2 separate regions of the Homo sapiens genome follow, and region 1 is linked to region 2. The links are contacts of gene promoters, found by promoter capture Hi-C in human tissues and cell types (Jung and others, 2019). All regions are on one chromosome and are shown on one strand. Each heading gives the region's core, a stretch centred on a gene start or on the middle of the fragment in contact. The rest is flanking DNA. Distances are from core to core; before and after follow the strand shown. Region 1 overlaps MTMR2 (myotubularin related protein 2). Region 2 holds the start of MTMR2 (myotubularin related protein 2).

Region 1 (6,037 bases), core at 659-3,158, 60 kb after region 2:
TGTGATATGATGTTATAACTTCAAGAGCAAGTATACTCAGTTGAAATATGAGTGAAAAAGTAGCCTTTGAATAAAAAAATGTTTCTTTTTTTGTCTTTCCCACCCCAGGTCCTGAGGGAGTCTAACAAGTTAGCAGAAATGGAAGAACCACCCTTGCTTCCAGGAGAAAATATTAAAGACATGGGTCCGTAATGGTATTTTTTGCTTAATGTCCTTCTCCGTTCTACTGTGCAGAATGTTCAGTACTCTCAGCATACAGAGAATAAACTGGCTGTCAGAGACACCTCCTGTCTGGCAGAACTCTTTACCTGCAGTCTTCTCAGCATCTTAGTGTGTTCTACAAACGTAAGCCTAGACCCGCTGCTAGTGTTTGTGTTTGAACTCCTGGGAAACATGCAAATTGAATTATACTTTGCCTCTTCTCTGGTTTGTTTTACTTTCTTTAAAAGTAGGTGGATTTTTGCTAAAACTGTTGCTGAAGCCTGTGAAGGAAAATTTTATTATTTTGAATTACTATATTCAGATATTGAGTTGCCTAGATAAAAACATTGAATTGTCACCTTATACAAGTAATTTTTCTTAAAATATCTTCTCTTCTGTTTGCTTCCTTCATGTCTTTCTTCTCTGAATAAAGTCAGGTTAATTTTTGGATGAAATACATCATCTCCATTGCATCTGTTTGTATGTAGATGCCCTTCTCTGCCCAGCCTAATACTTATAATATGGACTGGAAACTGAAAATGAGCTTACAAGCTGTGTTTTTTTTCCTCATGCTTTTGTTTTGTTTCATCTGTGTGATAATCTACAGATATCTACTCATAAACTCTGAGAAATAAAGTAATATGTTAGAAGAATGAAGTAAATGATTTCTTAGTTAATATAACTACCATGTTTCATTTTGTTACCAATCATAATTTTTAAAAAGGATTTTAAAAATGCTGAATTTTACTTGGCTAGGTGTCATTTCTATGTGTAAAAACAAGCCAAAGGCAGGACCTGTATTCTAAATGGATTATTATTTACTAAATTTAGCTTCCTAGTCCTTAGCATGCTATTTGTCTTTTCTTGCTCTTGGCTCTTGATTGAATAACCTCTCAGTCTTTTTCTTTTCCCCAGTTAGCCTTATATATACACCAAGCTCTTGATCTGAACTACCTACTTACATTTTTTCAGAATTGGCTATTATATAATGATAGTAGTTATTATTATTGAGTGCTTACTATCTCAGTCATTCTCAGAGAGTATATTCTTGAGAATAACATCAACCCCATTTTATAGGTGAGGAAGGAAACTAAGGCATAGGAAGATAACCTAGCTAATAAGGTTATATCTAGCATTGTGACAATTTCTTTTTCTTATTCTGAACTTAATGCCGTAATTGCAGCTCCCATTATGAAATATGGCTTTATTAAAGAACTTCAAGTTACCACTCAGTCTCATTTGTTGGCTCTTCTTCCTTTAATAGCAACACGCCCTAGGACTTCATCCTTGACCCATTTCCCTTTTCCCTCCTGTATACTCTTTTCGGTTGACCATATCTAAATTTGTAACATCACTTGCCATATATTGGCTGATGACTCCAAAATTTGTTATCTCCAGTGTGAACCCCTGTCCTAATGTAAGTAAACAAATGCCTCTATCTTAAACACACATCCTTGAATATCCCATAGGAACCTTATACCCAACATCTCCAAAATGGAAATCATCACGTTTAACTCCAAACTTACTCTTTTTCTTGCATTCTCTCTCTCAGTTGACATCAATACCAGCTGTCCATTTACTCAAGTCAGAAATCTGGTTGTCGTACTAGACTGCTCTTTTTTTCTTTTCTGGACTCTTAACATCCAGTCAGTGTCTAAGAATTTCTTGTATTTATCTTCTTTTCTCCATTGTCATGATCTCTTGAGGAATGATAGAGGGTACAGAACAAAGCAAAGACTAATGATGATAATAGTAACATAGGTATAAACCCTTGAATTTTTGTATTGTACTTAGAACTTTAGAAGCATCTTTATATGTATATTATCTCATGATTTTAGAATAAAGGGGAAGATGTAACAGAAAAGCACTGGCCTGAGAATGACATTCCTGTGGTGGGATATAGGATAATAAGGCTGAGTTTTCTTACATGAGTAAGAAAATTGACTGTGGAAGGAATCCAGAAATGTTTTAGTAACCTTGAATAAAGCTTTTCTAGTTGAGGTAAAAATTCATAAGGGAAAAATATTATTTGTGCAAAGCAAGTTTGTGTATTTTTGTATAATGATGGGTTCATTTAATTTTAAAAGCTTCCCTCTAAATGAAATATGCATTCGAAACGATTTAAAAAAGTAGTTTATACTTAAAATGTTCCTAAGGGAACTATTTTGAAGGTTAGAAATGATTGTGAAAAGATCAGTCTCATTTCAAATTCCATACAAAGCAGCCAGTCCTTCGAAGTGTTGAATGAGAAGCAAAGTCAGGAGGTTGTAATACCTTATTAAATATATTTCATGGCCCCAAGTTTTCCCAGAAGCCCGTTGAAAGGGTCTTAGAAAGTTGTTGCTCCACAGAATTGTCCCTTACTTCCTTGGAATGATGAAGATACTCCTTTATCTGCTGATTTGGTGTAATAATGACATACTAGGAATTTATGAATATTTTAAGATATAAAAACCATGTATTGGAAATTATGAACTGTGGCATTTTAAATAATATTTTGAGATACTGATTCCTAAGTTATCCTGCATAATCAGTTAATGCATATTTTACAAAACATAATGCCATGTAGATCCATTGTTTATTTGATAAAACATTACTTGTGATTATTTCTTTACAAAGTCTGGCATTGGTTGGTCAGCAGTACAATATCCTCTTCTTATACTGTTATTTTTCTAAGAAATTATATTTTAAATGTGTGTCATTTCACCTGTAAAATTTTCCCCATAAGTATTAATCAGATCAGGAGTTTGTGGAATAACATATGTTTTGGACATTGCATTTTTAGAAGAATGTTGACAAACTGGACAGGAAATTGGTGAGGTTACATAGAAACTGCAATGAGATGATGGCGACTGTGCCTTGACATGCTTATTGTTGATACCACCATTACCAGTATTCTTTCACCCGTCTCTGCTGCAGCTACCCACACCTGTTTTATCTAGCCAGGATAGTAGCCCCTTTGTTTACTTCCATTCTGTCTCATGGGATGAGAAGTCCCTCCACCTTTTCAGCCTATCCCATTTAATTCTGTGTTTCTTCCCCAGATTAGTGCAAGGATGGAAGCTTGGGTTGTAGGATTCTGAGGTCTCTGGAAATTACTGGTTCTGTTATTTTTCAGCATAAATTAGTCTAGGAATCATAACAATTTTATAAGATGAGATAGCAGGTTTTAATAGCACATAATGTATAGTAAACTGTGGACTTCTTGCTTTTTCAGCCAAAGATGTAACTTATATATGTCCATTCACTGGCGCTGTACGAGGAACTCTGACTGTCACGAATTATAGGTTATATTTCAAAAGCATGGAACGGGTAAGAGTCAGATTAGATTTTTGTATGTACATGAGTGTGTTGTTTGTAGCTAGTTTTGTTCATTTCTGATCATTTCTAATTAAAGCATTTCTGATTAAGATTTTGATCAGCTCTATAATTGGACAGTATTAATTGCTCAGTTTTAATTATTTTTTCTTTCCTTCTTTAGGATCCCCCATTTGTTTTAGATGCTTCCCTTGGTGTGATAAATAGAGTAGAAAAAATTGGTGGTGCTTCTAGTCGAGGTGAAAATTCTTATGGACTAGAAACTGTGTGTAAGGTAAATGTTATAATATGTATGTGATTTTCTTTGGTTTGAAAAGCTTTGTATTAAATAGAACCTCTGTTTTGAAATTGGTTTCTAAAATATAAAATGGATTTCCAATTAGAAATGTTATTTTAGTATGACATTGATAGAAGAAAACAAAATTTAGCAGTAATAGAAAAGGTGATTCATGAATTAGACTTAATTCTTTTGGGCCCAGTTCAGTCTACATATTTTGATATATTCACAAATTCATAACTTATTTTTTAATAATGATCATCTTGGCCGGACATGGTGGCTCACGCCTATAATCCCAACACTTTCAGAGACTGAGGCAGGTGGATCACATCAGGTCAAGAGTTCGAGATCAGTCTGGCCAACATGATGAAAACGCATCTCTACTAAAAATACAAAAATTAACCAGGCGTGGTGGCGGGCACCTGTAATCTCAGCTATTGGGGAGGCTGAGGCAGGAGAATTGCTTGAACCTGGGAGGCGGATGTTGCAGTGAGCCAAGATAGTGCCACTGCACTCCAGCTTGGGCAACAGAGTAAGACTCTGTCTGAAATAATAATAATAATAATAATAATAATAATAATAATAACCATCTTTAATGCACATAGTACTGATAGGATACCACATAGTTCCACATTGATGATTTCACTTTGAGCCTTATAAAAATCCTGTGAGGTAGGCACAATAGACATTACTACCTTTAATTTACAAATTAGCAACATAAGGCTCTGAGCAGTTCCACTACTTCGTAGTGGAAGAACTAAATAACTAAATATGTTATATTCATCATCACCTATCTTTTCTGTTTCTAGTTCTCATAATTTTTCTTTTTTTTTTTTTTTGAGACGGAGTCTCGCTCTGTTGCCCAGGCTGGCACAATCTCAGCTCACTGCAAGCTCCGTCTCCTGGGTTCACGGGATTCTCCTGCCTCAGCCTCTCGAGTAGCTGGGACTACAGGCGCCCACCACCACGCCCAGCTAATTTTTTTTTGTATTTTTAGTAGAGATGGGGTTTCACCATGTTAGCCAGGATGGTCCCAATCTCCTGACCTCGTGATCTGCCCATCTCGGCCTCTCAAAGTGCTGGGATTACAGGCGTGAGCCACCGTGCCCGGCCAGTTTTTCTACTTCTAAAACAATAGTGTGGAAAAGTTGATATTGTAGACTTTTCTTATGTTCTTATTTACTGGCATTCTTTAAATGCGTTGATACTTGAATGAAACATAGATTGTTACATTTTTACCATTAAGTCATAGGTATTTAATTCTACGTACCACTTCTCCAGGTCACTGTTATTAAGGCCTAATTAACTAACACCCATGCACATTGAGATTCTACATCACATTGTTCCTTTCTTTTTATTCTGCCAGTGCCAAAAGAAACAGCATGTGTATAATTCAAGATACTTTGTTATGCTAATCTTAGAAGTTTTGTGACTCTGGTATTAAAGCTAATGACTTAGTAATTATTTTTGTAGTTTTCTTTTTTTTTGAGACAAGAGTCTGGCTCTGTTGCTTAGGCTGGAGTGCAGTGGCGTGATCTTGGCTTACTGCAGCCTCTGCCTCCCGGGTTCAAGTGATTCTCCTACCTCAGCCTCCTCAGTAGCTGGGATTACAGGCATATGCCACCATGCCTGGCTAATTTTTGTATTTTTGGTAGAGATGGGTTTCACCACATTGGCCAGGTTGGTGTTGAACTCCTGGCCTCAAGTGATCTGCCCGCCTTGGCCTCCCAAAGTGTTGAGATTACAGGTGTGAGCCACTGTGCCTGGCCTGTGGTTTTCCATTATAGTCAGAAGGGCTCTGTGAGTGTAATCGCTGGCAACCATGTGTCAAGCACACTGTTTCCTGATCACTTTTCTGTAGTTTAAGAGTAAGTAGTGCATAGAATATAAGACGATGTGAAAGAAGATAATTTTGAATCTTAATCATTTTAAATATAATTTCTTTCCATGGAACAGGATCGTTATCAATAAACAAAAATATTTGTAGGGCCCCTGACATGGTACTTTCAGAGAACTCTGTGGTTAACAGAATGATTCTGAGTATCTCACCTAGTTATAAAGATATTTACTGAGGGAAAACAAGATATCAGCTTAGGTTCCCGCACATGTTTATTTTAAAAGATAGTAAAGCCAGCATTCTAGTTTTGGATCATATACTGTCTTACTTATGTATTGTGGGTACACTGTAGTGGAGAGGCTTTGTGTGTGGTTCTACAAAATGAGGCATAATAAAGCTATTTT
Region 2 (6,394 bases), core at 1,077-3,576:
ACTAATTTTGGATGTGGATTTTGTATTCTGCAACTTTATTAATTTATGAGATCTCAATGGTTTTTTGGTGTAGTACCCATACATGAACTGTTGTCAGTCTATGATGAGATCAACGCAATATTGAGAATAAGTGTTTAGGAACTTTCACGAAACTTTCAAGGAGTAATATCTGTTAAATCTAATAAACAATTTGGCCTTGTATTTTGCAAACCTTTTTCTTTAATTTTCCTAGTGCAGTTATCCCTTAGTATCTGCAGGTTATTGGTTTCAGGACCCCCAAGGATAGTAAAAGCTAAAGATGCTCAAGTCTCTTAAATAAAATGGCATTAGTGTCTACATATAACCTATGCATACCCTCCTGTATACTTTAAATCAACTCTAGATTACTTATAATATCTAATACAATGTAAATGTTATGTAAATAGTTGTTATACTGTATTGTCTTCTATTTGTATTATTTTGTTTTTTACAATTTTTACAAATTTTTCAATCTGTGGTTGGTTGAATCTGAGGATATGGAACCAACTGTGATTAATTTTTCTTATATTTTAAAAAAGTTTTGGTTGGTGATGGTTTGAAAATTAAAAACAAAACACTGTTCCTTCTTGCAGATAGTTTGAGAAAAAACAGCCCAGATTATAAATTGAAAAATTAATAACTTTTGGTGAGGTCCCAAGTTAACCATGTTTTTTCATTTTCTTAGAGTTCATTAATTAATTAGAGTTCACTAATTAATTTCCAGCTGATATTCTTTGCTTGTGTTTTCACTCTGAGAAGTTACCATTTTACCAGTCAGGTTAGAAGTCAAGCAGTAAGTTCAGTGGAAAAACAAGTAATAATAAATCTACTTAGTGAGACCGTACTGTGCAACCGACTCTGCACAGAGAAAAACAACCTATTACGTAGATATTTTTATTCCCATTTTATTCCCATTTTAGAGATGTGAAACAACTTAACCACAGCACAGAGCAAGTGTAGAGACAGAACCGGGATTCCGATGAAGATCTGTCTGGTTCCAAAGTCTCTACACTTTTACTACACTGTTCTTTATTAATCACTAGATAGAACCATACACATATTGTTACATCAGGCAGAAGGTTTCGAGGGTTCTATTAACAAAGTGCTACGAATGAACTGGGTGGAAGAAAGTACATAGGTCTCCCATTCAAGGGTTCATCAGCCTTCACTAAGGAAATTTAAGTCAAAGTAGCTGACAGTGAGTCAGCATTTTGGAAGGCAGGTAGAGATGGTGAAGAAATAAGGAAATTCTTCTATGAGTCATGATAGATATTTAAGCTTGTTAAAAAATGTTTTTGACTACCTACTCCCTTTGCCTACAGAGTCCAGTTAAGGTATCTTAAAAATTATGGAAATAAAAACAATCGGTCGCTGTCTGTCCTCGCCAAACTCAAAAAAGGCTAAGCCTTTTGTGCTTAAACACATACTCATCAGTAACTATTCTACCTTACACTGAACATAACTAAGCTAGGTTGTTCTTCTTGGGAATGTACTTGCAAGTTAATACTGCACTGCAACTATAAGGTTTTTTAAAAGACATCAGTTGTACATTATAAATTAAATCTAGTTTAAATCAATATAATTCAATTTATCCTAGCAAGGAAGTTTTTTAAGGATGGTCTGATTTTTTTTTTACAGGAATAATCTTTGCATAATTTTACACCCCATACATGAGATGATTAGGATTCAATCTCAATCAGAAAAATCCCTTTATGGTGTCCTTATGGCTTTCCTGTATCCTAACAGAAAAATCCTAGCAGAAGCATTTCCCCTTTACCCAGTTCCTGTTCTCTTATCACAGTTCTATTCCTCCACACTCCCTTCCTGCTAGGCACGGGAATTTGAAAGGGCAGGGAAAAATCGGTGAAAGTTTGTCTTCTACTTGGGTAATCCAACACCACCGCATCCAGTAGTATATAATTCTTTTTGCATGTATATCAGATCCTCCCCAATCCCTCTCCCATACCTCTTTCTCACTTTTCTCTCATTATCCGGTCCTCTTGTTTTCCTTGACCCCCACATTCCTGTCTAAATCATCCTCCTGGCCTCAGGTCCTTATCGCCTTCCTGAGACCCTCATGTTTAGTGTTCCCTCATTCCTCTTACACCTAGGATTTCTCCTCCTTCCATAAGGGTCTGGTCCTTCATCCCTCCCGCTTCACCAGACCCCCTCACCCTGGGAGCCGCCACCTCCCTTTCCCCAAGACCAGATGTCGCGCGGCCGGACACAGCCAGCACGGAGAGTCGATGCCGGCGTCTGAGCTGCGCAGTGGGGTCTTCCCGCTGCCCAGCAGCCTACAGGCGCGGTGCACTCTGGGGGAACATGGCCGCTTCCGGTCTCCCTCCCGGGCCGGCGCTGGCCTGACTGCGGCCCCGGTCCGTAGCACTCCGCCCTCCGCTTCTCCCGCCCTGTAGCCGCGAAGACTGCTTCAGCCTTTCCCTGTGCTGCCCCTGCCGCGCGATGGAGAAGAGCTCGAGCTGCGAGAGTCTTGGCTCCCAGCCGGCGGCGGCTCGGCCGCCCAGCGTGGACTCCTTGTCCAGGTAACCAGGACGCCCAGGGCCCCGCCCAGCGTCCGAAGGGGATGGAGAGGGGCCGGGGACCTGCTGGATTGTTGCCCCAATTCGCGGATTCTGGTTTCTGAAGGCTACGCCGGAATTCCTTCCCCGGGACTTGGGAACCACTTCTGCCTCCCTCCCTGGGGCGTGGAGGCTGAGGAAAAGGAGGTTAAAACTCGCTGCTTCTTTATCGATTCCTCTACCTTTCATATTCCGATCTCGTTTTCTCCCCGATGGAGGTGGTCCCAGTTAATTACTTTCTCCTGTCTTTCATTCCCTCTCAAACCTTTTTTAAGACAGTTCCCCCCGCCCCCATTCTTTTCCCCACATTTCCTGTCTTTCTCTGTCACTTTTTCCAAAACCATCCTAAAGTCAGTCTTTCCTCCTCCACCCCTTCTTATGTCTTTGGTTTTTGGGTTCTTGCCCAGCCCTTTTCTCTCTTTTCATGGCTTCACCTTCTTAATTTCTTTCATGCTTTTCTCTACACTCTGATTTTCTTCTCGCCTCCCTTTTTGCTTAAATATGTAAATAAAAATGTCTCCTGTGCTTCTCTTTTCTAAATCTTCCAGCTGAAAGTCAGTATCAAGGAATCTGAGTGGTTTTTATCCCCAGTGATAGGTTTAAGAAAACAAAATGAGTGGTAGTTTTCTTCCTTCTTGGGCTACTGGTTCTCCACGTTGTCATTTCTCTTGTAACAGATGGGAATTTTATCCTGGAATTTTGAGGAGGACTTTATGCAGCTTTGCAGAGAGCTTTTATGAATATTAACTAGACGCGTTTTGGATGCAGTCTTTTTCTTTGATTTTAAAATAATGATTTAAAAATTTTTTAAAAAATAATATAAGACCTGTATTTGCTTTTTATGCAGCCACGATGAAATCTGGTTCTTTTCCACTGAATAATAGTCTAATTGTTATTAGAGAGTGATTCGATAACTGCTGTGTGAAAACACACAATTTTCATTTTCTCCTTCAATCAGTTGAAGTGGCTCTATTATAATTCATTTTGGATTCTGCTAAATATGGGTAGTTATTGCCTTTTTTCCTGTTGATGTTCAGCACCTCACTGGGGAACCACTGTCTGATCCCGTCATTCTACATTGCCATATGCACTCATAGCTCCCTGCACAGTCGTTTTTCAGAGTCTTTAATAAGCACACTATAATTGTTGGCTTAAAGTGCCTTTTCTACCAGGTTATAAGCTATTATACTTGAGGGCAATCTTAATCATCTTCATATCTCCAGCACTTAACATAGTCTCAGCATGTGATAGGTGCTCACTAAATGGTTTTTTTTTTTTCGAATTTGTAGCCTGAATTATCCAGGAAAGGAGGATTTTTCTTTGCAGTTTGATTATATATATTGCACGTTTGAATCAAGTATTTTTTGAATTCTGTATTTATTGCTTTGAAATTTGGAAAGCTGAGGATTAACATGTTCAGTTGTGTAATTCATTCAGAAAACAGGTTGGAAAATTCGAATTTTATGGGAAAGTTACAAATGACAACTATGCCTCAGAATAGCATAAGAGGCAACCAGTACTCTCATCCAAGGCAGAGAAGTTAGAACCACATGAAGCAGCACAGTATGTTAGAAAGAAGGAAGTACTGGAAGTTAGGAAGCTCCCATGCTGAAGTCTCTGGCTGAGCTAGCTCTTTGGTCTTTTCATTTAGACTTTCTAGTCTACAGTTTTCTCATCTTTTAAAATAAGAAGCTTGATCTAGAAAATCTGTAAGGTCCCTTGGAACTCTAACATTGTCATTTTTAAAATTTTAATGACAATACTAAGATGAATGCATTGATATTAATTTTAAAGATAATTCCTTTGCAAATAACCTTTGTTTTGGATTTTTGCAATTACACGAAATAAGTGTCCTTTATTATTACAAACTAATATACCTAACGGTGCCACTTGAACATATTTATTTCCTAAAACAGAAAGCCCAGCAAGTATAAAGATTATATATGTATATGAACTTCTCTATAAAAAATTATGTTACTGACAAATTTGAGAAAATTAAGTACTCCTCGAGAGAATTGTGATATAGTAGATTAGCCTAATCCTCTCTGGACAAAAATATAAGTATGATTCCTATTTTCCATAAGAGAATGCCAGCTTTCATTACTCTCCTCTGGAAGGTAGAAAAGTAACATTTACTTAATGTCTACTGTATGGAAGTTTCCCTGCTAAATTCTATGTATCTTTTATTTCATTAATCATCATACCTGTTTGTGGCACTCTCCTTAATCAACAGTATGTAATAGATACATTATAGACACTAGTTAGAAAGCTTAATTTTAAACAATCTAGGCTAACACTTCATCGCAGGTGACTCTAATACATTGCCAGTGTGGCCTGCTTTGGTCTCATAGCTATGTTAAGTGTCTATCTAGATTGTTTAAGTTATTTCTTTTGTTTCATTAGCCTTTGACAAAGCAAAATTATTGCTGTTTGGCCTATATTATCTCAGTTTTTGCAGAAATGATTCCCTTAAATTGTAGTTTATTTTTATGCTTTCTGTTTTTATACAGAGGCCTAATTGGGAAACTGCCTTTGGAATTTGTTTTGATATCTCTGGCAGAATAATAGTTAATATTGTTAAATGTGTCACAGAATGTTTTTCACACATGCATTAACATAAATTTCTGCTGAGTTTAGCTACAAAGAAAATTATTTATAGAAAAAATTATGTATGCTCCTTGTTTGTTAGTAAGTGGTAACTATATAACTGCGTCTTTCTCTTTAGCTTAGTAAAACTTTAGTCAAATTTATATCTGAAGGTGGTAATATACTCATCTCTAATTTCTTTAAGTACTTTTATTATTACATGAACTCAAGTTAAATATTATGTGTTATGTTTAAATGTATTGATTAGATGTCTGAAGCCCTTTTGGGAAGTAGGAAGGATGATACACTAATCCATGTGGTTGCCCATTGTTTTTTGAAAATGACATACTTGGCCGAGTGCCATGGCTCATGCCTGTAATCTCAGCACTTGGGAGGCCAAGGTGGGAGGATCACTTGAGCCTAGGGGTTTGAGACCAGCCTGGGCAACATAGTGAGGCCCCATCTCTAAAAAAGAAAGACTTTTTAAAATAAGTAAAAATATTTTAAAAAATGAAAATGACATACTCCATTGAAGTTGGATTACAGGCTGTTGTGCAATCTGTAGTTCACAATAAACATGTGATGAGTCTTACTAAGTATCTGTAGTCATTTCAGAGTTCTCTTGTCTCCAGTTATGCCTTCTAGGTCATCATAGATCTGATGCTTTTGCCCACAAAAGGGCAATTTCATTCTTCATATGATATCCAGGTAGTAGTTTCCTAACCAGCTATAGTTATGTCATCCTGCATCTTTAAAAAAAAAAAAAAAAAAGTAATCGTCAGCTGGGCGTGGTGGCACGCACCTGTAACCCTAACTACTTGGGAGGCTGAGGTACCAGAATTACTTGAACCTGGGAGGCCAAGGTTGCAGTGAGCCAAGAACGCACCACTGCACTCCAGAGTGGGCAATAGAGTGAGACTCCATCTCAAACAAAAACAAAAAAAACAATAGTTGTCTTTGGTGAGTCCTGCTTAATATTGCCATACTTCAGTAAACTGTTCAGCAACTCTTGTATATCTTGCTGTTGGCCATTCTTCATGTATATCTATCCCCACAGAAAGAGAGAGGGAGTTGTGGAAAACTTCACTTTAGCATCCTAATAATCTAGTTATATTCTGTAATTTTACTTTTGTTGGGTGTGCTCTGATTCTTGATATAAGTATGACTTTATAAGATATAGGTAAAATAATACTGTAGGTCAGATGTGATAATAA

Evidence for each region. The method cuts DNA at HindIII sites, captures the fragments that hold promoters and counts their contacts. A contact is called where the count stands out against the background at its distance.
Region 1: a fragment that was not itself captured here is called in contact with the fragment with the promoter of MTMR2 in region 2 in 2 of the 25 tissues and cell types used here (hippocampus and mesenchymal stem cells).

Annotation. Positions count from the first base shown.
Region 1 is chr11:95,859,748-95,865,784 of GRCh38, reverse strand. It overlaps MTMR2 (myotubularin related protein 2), which reads left to right. Exons shown (of 15, transcript NM_016156.6): 3 at 109-184; 4 at 3,419-3,513; 5 at 3,683-3,793. Among named protein-coding and RNA genes, the nearest start is that of MTMR2, 61 kb to the left of the region's middle. The HindIII fragment of the contact is 3,285 bases long and covers 266-3,550 here.
Region 2 is chr11:95,920,039-95,926,432 of GRCh38, reverse strand. MTMR2 (myotubularin related protein 2) reads left to right here and starts at 2,326. Exons shown (of 15, transcript NM_016156.6): 1 at 2,326-2,558. The coding sequence starts at 2,479. RefSeq lists enhancers at 2,109-2,238, 2,299-2,348. The HindIII fragment of the contact is 5,565 bases long and covers 1-2,791 here.